Regions from separate parts of the Homo sapiens genome. Here all the other regions are linked to region 3. Evidence: promoter capture Hi-C in 16 types of primary human blood cells and fetal thymus (Javierre and others, 2016). All regions are on one chromosome and are shown on one strand. Each heading gives the region's core, a stretch centred on a gene start or on the middle of the fragment in contact. The rest is flanking DNA. Distances are from core to core; before and after follow the strand shown. Region 1 holds the start of LCN12 (lipocalin 12). Region 2 holds the start of PTGDS (prostaglandin D2 synthase). Region 3 overlaps RABL6 (RAB, member RAS oncogene family like 6).

Region 1 (2,700 bases), core at 101-2,600, 140 kb before region 3:
TCAGCCACTTATTCAGAGGGACCCACGGCGGGAGTGGCCAAGCGTCATGAGTGGAGATGGTGTCTAACTATGTTGCTCAGGCTGGTCTCAAACTCCTGAGTTCAAGTGATCCTTCTGCCTCTGCCTCCTGAAGTACTGGGATTACAGGTGTGCGCCACTGCGCCCGGCCCCTAAAGTGCTGGGATTACAGGTGTGCGCCACCGCGCCCGGCCCCCAAAGTGCTAGGATTACAGGTGTGCGCGACCGCGCCCGGCCCCCAAAGTGCTAGGATTACAGGTGTGAGCCAGCGCGCCCGGCCCCTGAAGTCCTGGGATTACAGGTGTGAGCCAGCGCGCCCAGCCCCGGAAGTGCTGGGATTACAGGTGTGAGCCAGCGCACCCGGCCCCCGAAGTGCTAGGATTACAGGTGTGAGCCAGCGCGCCCAGCTGCCCACACTTTTTTGTATACTCCCCAGCTGGGTTTGGTCATTGGCAGGCAGAGTCATGAAGCTGCCTGTGCTGGGACAGGGCCCATGGCGCACCTGAGCCACTGGCGGCTGGGACCCAGGCCCGGGATCCTCCTCACCCGCTTGGAACGGCAGGGACAGCCACTCACCGAGTCATCGCATTCCACACCTCAAAGCGGCCATCATCACTTAGCTCAAAAGTTGCGGTGAAAGCGTTCAGCAGCGCCCTGTGCTCCGGCCTGAAGCTGTTGCCCGCCAGGCCCAGGACGAACCATTCCCCCTGGAACTACAGAGGCGGTGGTGGGCAGGGGCGGCGGTGGGCAGGGGTGGCAGTGGGCAGGGTCAGGAGCCCCCTCCCGCCCTCCCTGGCAGCTTCTGGACCCCTCACAGAGCAGTGCTCCTGGCTGGGCCGGCGCCAGGGACACTGGCAAGAACCAGAGCCTACTCTGGGTCTGGCAGGGACATGGTGACCCTGGCCAGTGGCTGTGCGGCCTTCCCGAGCCTGTTTCCCCTCACGCACAGAGGGAGCGATGGGCTGGGCTGACGGCAGGGAATGGGTGCCAGGAAGGTCTGCGCTGGGCCCTCCTCTGCTGGAGGTCAGGGGCCCGCCTGGGGGCTCCTGGAAGCACGGCTGGTCCTGGCTCTCTGGGCAGCATCCCCAGGCCTGCTCAGCCACCAGCCTCTCCCTGCACTCAGACCCAGCCGGCTGCTTCTCCTTCCGTCAAAACCCCTGTACCTGGTTTCCTTGGAAGCTCTGCATCGGGGGCGGGAGTGGCAGGGGGGTTGGGGTCTGGGCCTGCAGGACTTTCAGCAAGGAGAGCCACAGCCACAGGCCACACAGCAGCCTCATCCTGGCAGCTGCTGGGCCCACAGGGACAGAGAGAAGGAAGTGGCCATGGGCAGGTGACCCAGAGACCCACCTCTTCATGCACATACCCAGCAGGTGCCCCTCCCAAGGGGGTGTGCCCCTCTGCCTCCCTCCTCAGGACTGGCAGGAGAGGTGGTGCCCAGGGCAGGCTTGGTGTGGGCTCTCCTCAGGTCCCACCCACCCACCTGCGGTCTCTTGGGTTCCAGCCAGGTGGGGTAGGAGGGGCCCCCAGGTCCACCTTCCACCTCTTCTTCTCATTTCTGAGGCCCTGCCCCCTTCAGCCCCCTTCCAAGTGCCCCATGCTGGGGGTTCAGAGGCCCCACGCAGCCTGCCCCAGCCTTCCTCCCTGTCACAGAATGTTGCGTCCCAGGCAGACAGCGTGACCTGCCGCAGCCATAAGGGACAGGGCCCAGCTGTGGCCAAACCCGGGCATTCCCCCTGCAGGGCCTGGGCCTGCCAGCCGCCCCCCTACCCCCACCCTGCCTGGCTCCACACATGCCTGAACCGCAGCGTGGGCCGTGGCCCTGGAGCAAGAACAGGACCAGGGAGGGGCCCTGTGGCCATGAGGCCGGGGTGGAGGTGGCCCGAGCAGGCGAGGAGGGAGGCTGGGGCCTGCAGAGCACCCAGGCAACCTGGTGAGGACAGCTGGGGCATTTTAAACGCAGTCTCTGCCCAGAGGGAGGGGCAGGGCTGGGAAGCCCCACTAATGGGAGTGGGCACCCCATGCTGGTCCTGCCTAAAAGAAAGGATTAGTAGGCCAGGCACAGAGGCTCATGCCTATAATCCCAGCACTTTGGGGGGCCAAGGTGGGAGGATCTCTCAAGCCCAGGAGTTTGACATCACCCTGGACAACATAGCGAGACTCCATCTCTACAAAAAAATTTAAAAGTTAGCTGGGGGTGGTGGTGCACACCTGTGGTCCCAGCTACTTGAGAGGCTGAGGTGGGAGGATTGCTTTAGCCCAGGAGTTTGAGCCTGCAGTAAGCTATGATTGTGCCACTGGACTCCAGCCTGGGCAAGACTGAGATCTCATCTCTAAAAATATAAAAATAAAATGTAAACAGAGGGCTGGCAGGGAGGGCAATGGCAGGCTTGGGGCTTCTAGCTGCCCTGGCACCCCTTGGACGATGGGGCTAGGGAGTGGAGTCCCCTTCCTGACCTCTCCTCCCATCCTCACAGGTAGCTGAAGCCTCTGGGTGCTGGACTCCATGTTAGGGGTCACCAAGGGTGAGCCAGGTGCCTCCCACTCACCGTGTGCCTGGCCTGTGAGCCTCTGTCCAGGCCCCCCAGGTCCCTGTCCTGGCTGCCCCCTCCCACCCCAGATTCCCTGTCCTGGCCACCTCCTCCCCTCATCCAGCCCTGCTTACAAGGGACTTAGGCTCATCCC
Region 2 (2,700 bases), core at 77-2,576, 160 kb before region 3:
TGACCCCCGCCCCTCAATCCCCGCCCCAGGAGATGACCCCGCCCCTCACATCTCCGCCCCAGGAGCTGACCACGCCCCTCACATCCCCGCCCCAGGAGATGACCCCGCCCCTCACATCCCCGCCCCAGGAGCTGACCACGCCCCTCACGACCCCGCCCCAAGAGCTGGCCCCGCCCTTCATGTCCACAACCAGGGAACTGACCGCGCCCCTCACGCCCCATGCCCCCCTAGGAGCTGACCCCGCCCCTCACGTCCCCGCCCCAGGAGCTGACCACGCCCATCAGGCCCCCGCCCCGCCCCGGGAGGTGGCCCCGCCCCTCACGCCCCGCCCCAGGAGATGACCACGCCCCACTTCCCCCTCCCCCGGAGATGGCCCCGCCCCTCACGCCTCAGCCCCAGAAGCTGGCCACGCCCCTGACACCCAGCACCCCCGTCTGGCCACGCCCCTCCCGAGGACAGTCCCTCACCCTCGCACGCCGCCCACCAGCCAGCTTCGGCCCCTCCGCCCCCGGTCCCGATTCTGTGCCCTGGCTGAGCGCCTGGCCCATACAGCGGGCGGCAGAGGACGTCGCATTCCTGGCGGGGATCGGGGCGGGTCTTCGGCTCAGCTCTGCGGACCGCTGGGGTTCTCCTCGACGCCAGGGAGGGGCGCGCGGCGCGGGGACCCGCGCTCCGGCGCTTCCCCGAGCAGCTCCCGGGCGAGAGCGCGCGTCGCCGGCTGTCTGTGCGGTGCGCGTCCCTCCCAACCCCCACCGCGCACGGAGTGTTTGTCGCCATCCCTGTGCCCCACCCGCCCGTGTCCTGGCACCCAGGTGTGGAACGTGCGCTCGTGTGTCCTCTGGGGGTCGCGTGCCCACAGGGGTGGACGTGTCTGGCTGGCGTGGGCGCGTGTGTGGCCCGGTGTCTGCGTGGCCCATCAGGGGAGACGGGACGCGGTGCCCAGGGAGGGCTTCTCGCGGGCAGCCTCCTCGGGCGGCTACCCAGCCTCCTTCCTGCGCGCCCGCTCAGTCCCTGGCCGGCACTGCCCGGCACTGCGGGACTTCGCTCACTCCTCCCAGGGGGAAGACCCAGCCGGAAAGTGCCCTTCCCCTGACAGGGTCCTGTAGCCCTTGGGGATGACGCAGGAAAGCCCCTCACCTTGTCCTGCTGGAAGTTGGGCTGCACGGAGACCTGGGCCTCCGGTGCTGCCTGCAGGTCGCCCAGCACCCCCAGCAGGGCCAGTCCCATCCACAGTGTGTGATGAGTAGCCATTCTCCTGCAGCAGAGCGGGTGTCCGGGGCCTGGTGCCAGTGGTGTGGGAGAGCGAGGGAGGTGTGCAGGAGGAGCGGAGGGCACTGAGGAGACCCCTATTTATGGGCCAGGCTTGGCCTCCACCCAGGGCCCGGGGACAGCCCACTGAACACTCGTGATGCTGGGGGATGGGGTGGCCAGGCACAGCTGCAGCCTCGTCCCCCACAGGGCGCTTATGCAAGAGGCCTGGGCCTGCTGCCCCAGCTGAGGCAGCGTGGGGGTGAGGCAGAGGCCCCTGCCCACTGGTCCCAGAGACAGAGCTGGCAGGGACCTTGCCCACCCTCCTCCTGCTGGCAGGGCCCACCAACCCAGCGGCCCTGATAGGGCAGGGGCTGTGTTCCTCAGCCATGCCCGCCTCCGAGGCCTCTGGTGACTTCCCACTGGGGGCCAGGACCCACATCTCACAGCCCCTACCATCATTCCCTTTCCGAGCCCTGCCACCCCAGAAGGGGACACAAGCCCCACTTCCACCCTGAGAGTTTGGTCCTGAAACGCCCAGCAAGTGAAGTGTTGATGAGAAGCTCAGGCCAAGGTAGAGAAACTTGATCTGGCCCGCAGGGTCCCGAGGGCCAGGTTTGCTGGGCATGGCTTCCCCCATGGCCAGCTGTTGGGGCTCTGATAGTGACCCCTGGGTGCCCATTTCAGCCTGGGGCACCTTTGGGCTTGAGCACAGGCCCTATCCCTTGCCAGAGGCCCCAACTTCCCCCAGCAATCCCCCCACCCCAAGTCTGCCCCCCGCCGAGTCTGGGCCTCCCCACCCCGAGTCTGGTCCAGACTCGGGAGCACCCCGTGGGGCTGTCCTGTTACCCCAGCGCTGCACCCAGCTCCTTGGGCCCCTCCAGCTCGTTGGCCCTGGCTGGGGCCCTGTCACAGGCCGTCACAGGCAGGCACATGTGGTGGGCCCTCTCTGGATTCTGTTGGGACTGAGCTTCCCTGGCAGGCGTGGTGGGTGAGCGCTGCCGCTGGTCTGAAGGTGAGCCCGGGTGGGGAGCTGGGAAATGTACATGAGAGCAGGAGTGAGTCGGATGGGGTGGGGTGGTGAGCTTCTACGGGGCTGCTGGCGACCACTGGGGGCCGGAGCCCGTCTTCTTCCTGGATTCTGTGGCCCATCCCTTGCTGGGGGCGCACGAGCCCTGGGAGTGGGCTGGTGTGGACTGCTTCCTTGTTCCCCTTCCCCAGTGCCCGGGGGTCAAGGAGCCCAGACTGGGGGAGGCGCATGCCTATGTAGCAGCAGGGGCTAGTGGGCAGCACTGGTGTCAGGGCTGGTGGGGGTGGCCGGGTAGCATCCCAGGCAGAGGCCAAGGTGAGGGAGTGAGTCCCAGGGAGCCGGGAGGCACCTGAGAGGCAGGGAGAAGGAGGGCAGCGGTGCAGGGGGGCCAAGGCAGTCCTGAGAACCCACTCCTCCACCTG
Region 3 (2,700 bases), core at 3-2,502:
CAGGCTGGAGTGCAGTGGCGCGATCTCGACCCACTGCAACCTCCACCTCCCAGGCTCAAGCAATTCTCCTGCCTCCGCCTCCTGAGTAGCTGGGATTACAGGCATGTGCCCATCACACCCAGCTAATTTTTGTTATTTTTAGTAGAGACAGGGTTTTGCCATGTTGGCCAGGCTGGTCTCAAACTCCTGACCTCAAGTGATCCACCAACCTCGGCCTCCCAAAGTGCTGGGATTACAGGAGTGAGGCACCATGCCCAACTTAACCTCTACTTTTAAGTTAAAAAGTTAGGCTGGTCGCAGTGGCTCTCTCCTGTAATGCCAGCACTTTGGGAGGCCAAGGCAGATGGATCGCTTGGGCCCAGGAGTTTGAGACCAGCCTGGGCAACATGGTGAAACACTGTCTCTACAAAAATTACAAAACTCAGCCAGGCATGGTGGCGTGCACCTGTAGTCCCAGCTACTCAGGAGGCTGAGGTGGGAAGATTGCTTGAGCCAGGGAGGTGAAGGCTGCAGTGAGTCAAGATTGCGCCACTGCACTCCAGTTCAGGCGAAAGAGCAAGACCCTAAATAAATAAAATCAATTTCAGAATCTTTTTTTTCTCCTGCTGGTCCCTTGATCTTGGGTTTTCTTTTTTTCTGCTTAACTTCAGAATCTTAAATGTTGGCTGCAATAAGCTAAGTGATTCTCCTGGAAAACCTTTAGGATTCATCCAAGAAACGCTAAGAAGCCCTGTACTTACCTGTACTTAACCTCATGGTAAACCTGCTCTTTTACTAAACGGGATGTGAACACGACCTCTGTTCTAAGCTTGTTTTAGAAGATACAATGCAGAAAACACAGAGCTCTATTTGAGGCCCTGAGCCTTTCTTACCCTGATTCAATTTAACTCCTTCACATTCCTGCAGCTTTCCTGCAAAATATGGAATAATTTTCTTACATTTTCATACCAAGAAGAGCTTATGATTTATCTCAGATGCATGAAGGTTTAACTCCTAACCAGGCCCTCTCACAGTGCCAGCAGCATCTCCTGGGCCCATTACAAGGGCCCAGCCACCTCCCCACCCTGACAGCCTGTGCTGCAGCTGGTGTCAGCCACACCTTGCTCCTCTCCCACTCTGCACCCTGCAAAGATTTCCCATCCTCAGCAGCTTCAGACTACTTGGTGTCGAGGCAGGTAAAAACCAAGGTGACCCCAAGAAAATGGCTGCTCCCCCAAAGGAGGCAGAAGGAGGAAGTGAAGATGAGGAAATGTCAGAAGATGAAGAAGATGACAGCTGTGGAGAAGAGACTGTCACACCTCAGGAGAAAGGCAAGAAGGCTGCTGCAACCCCAGCCAAGAAGGTGACAGTTTCCCGAACAAAAAAGGCTGCAGGTGCCACACCCACCAAGAAAGCAACTGTCACTCCAGGCAAAGCAGTCGCCACACCTGCCAAGAAGGGAGCCATAGCAGGCAAAGCACTGGCAGCAGCTCCTGGCAAGAAGGGACACCCCAGCCAAGGGGGCAAAGAACGGCAAGAACGCCAAGAAGGAAGACAGCGATGAGGAGGAGGATGACTCTGAACCAGCAGTGATGAAGGCAGCAGCGGGTGCCCCTGCCTCAGGGGATGAGGACGAGGACGATGAGGACGATGCTGAGGAAGATGGCTCTGAAGCAGCACCTATGGAAACAACACCAGCCAAAGGAAAGAAAGCTTCTACAAATGCTGTTCCTGGGAAAGCCAAGAGGATGGCTGGGAATGAAGATGAAGAGGATGATGAGGACAAGGACGAGGGTGACGATGATGAAGAGGATGAAGTGATGAAGACGACAAAGAGGAGGAAGGGTCTGTCAAAGAAGCACCTGGAAAATGAAGGAAATGACCAAACAGCAGCTTCTGAAGCCAAGAAACACAAAGTGGAGAGTGAGAAGCACAGAACCAACTGTGCCTTTTTTTTTTTTTTAAGACAGGGTCTCACTCTCTCGCCCAGGTTGGACTGCAGTGGCGCAATCTTGGCTCACTGCAACCTTCACCTGCCAGGCTCAAGTGATTCTCCTGCTTCAGCCTCCTGAGTAGCTGGGATTACAGGCGTGTACCACTACCACCCGGCTAATTTTTGTATTTTTAGTAGAGACGGGGTTTCACCATGTTGGCCAGGCTGGAACGTCTTTCAATCTTTGTTGGAAACCTGAACTTTAACAAGTCTGCTCCTGAGTTAAAAACTAGTATCCATGGGCCAGGCCTGGTGGCTCACGCCTGTAATCCCAGCACTTTGGGAGGCTGAGGTGGACAGATCACAAGGTCAGGAGTTTGAGACCAGCCTGGCCAACATAATGAAACCCTGTCTCTACTAAAAATACAAAAATTAGCCGGGCGTAGTGGTGCGTGCCTGTAGTCCCAGCTACTGGGGAGGCTGAGGCAGGAGAATCACTTGAACCCGGGAGGTGGAAGCTGCAGTGAGCACCATTGCACTCCAGCCTGGGTAACAGAGCAAGACCCTGTCTCGAAAAAGAAAGAAAAACAAAAACTAGTATCCATGATATTTTTGCTAAAAATGATCTTGCTGTTGTGGATGTCAGAATGGGTATGACAAGGAAATCTGACTATGTGGATTTTCAAGCTGCTGAAGACCTGGAAAGAGCCTTGGAACTCGCTGGTTTGAAAGACTTTGGCAATGAAATTAAACTAGAGAAACCAAAAGGAAAAGACAGTAAGAAAGAG

The links. The method cuts DNA at HindIII sites, captures the fragments that hold promoters and counts their contacts. A CHiCAGO score of 5 or more calls a contact.
Region 1: a contact is called between the fragment with the promoter of LCN12 here and a fragment that was not itself captured in region 3, in 6 of 17 cell types (endothelial precursors, activated CD4 T cells, naive CD4 T cells and 3 more). The highest score is 8.3, in endothelial precursors.
Region 2: the fragment with the promoter of PTGDS here is called in contact with a fragment that was not itself captured in region 3 in 7 of 17 cell types (activated CD4 T cells, non-activated CD4 T cells, M1 macrophages and 4 more); the score reaches 10.0 in activated CD4 T cells.

Annotation. Positions count from the first base shown.
Region 1 is chr9:136,950,923-136,953,622 of GRCh38, reverse strand. It overlaps LCN12 (lipocalin 12), which reads right to left and starts at 1,350. Exons shown (of 6, transcript NM_178536.4): 1 at 1,182-1,350; 2 at 595-731. The coding sequence starts at 1,295. RefSeq lists a silencer at 529-710. The HindIII fragment of the contact is 24,012 bases long and covers 1-2,700 here.
Region 2 is chr9:136,976,130-136,978,829 of GRCh38, reverse strand. PTGDS (prostaglandin D2 synthase) reads right to left here and starts at 1,326. Exons shown (of 7, transcript NM_000954.6): 1 at 1,138-1,326. The coding sequence starts at 1,251. It also overlaps LOC124902312. RefSeq lists an enhancer at 1-266. The HindIII fragment of the contact is 17,671 bases long and covers 1-2,700 here.
Region 3 is chr9:136,813,993-136,816,692 of GRCh38, reverse strand. All of the region lies in intron 1 of RABL6 (RAB, member RAS oncogene family like 6), which reads right to left. It also overlaps the pseudogene NCLP1. Among named protein-coding and RNA genes, the nearest start is that of CCDC183-AS1, 6.5 kb to the right of the region's middle. The HindIII fragment of the contact is 884 bases long and covers 811-1,694 here.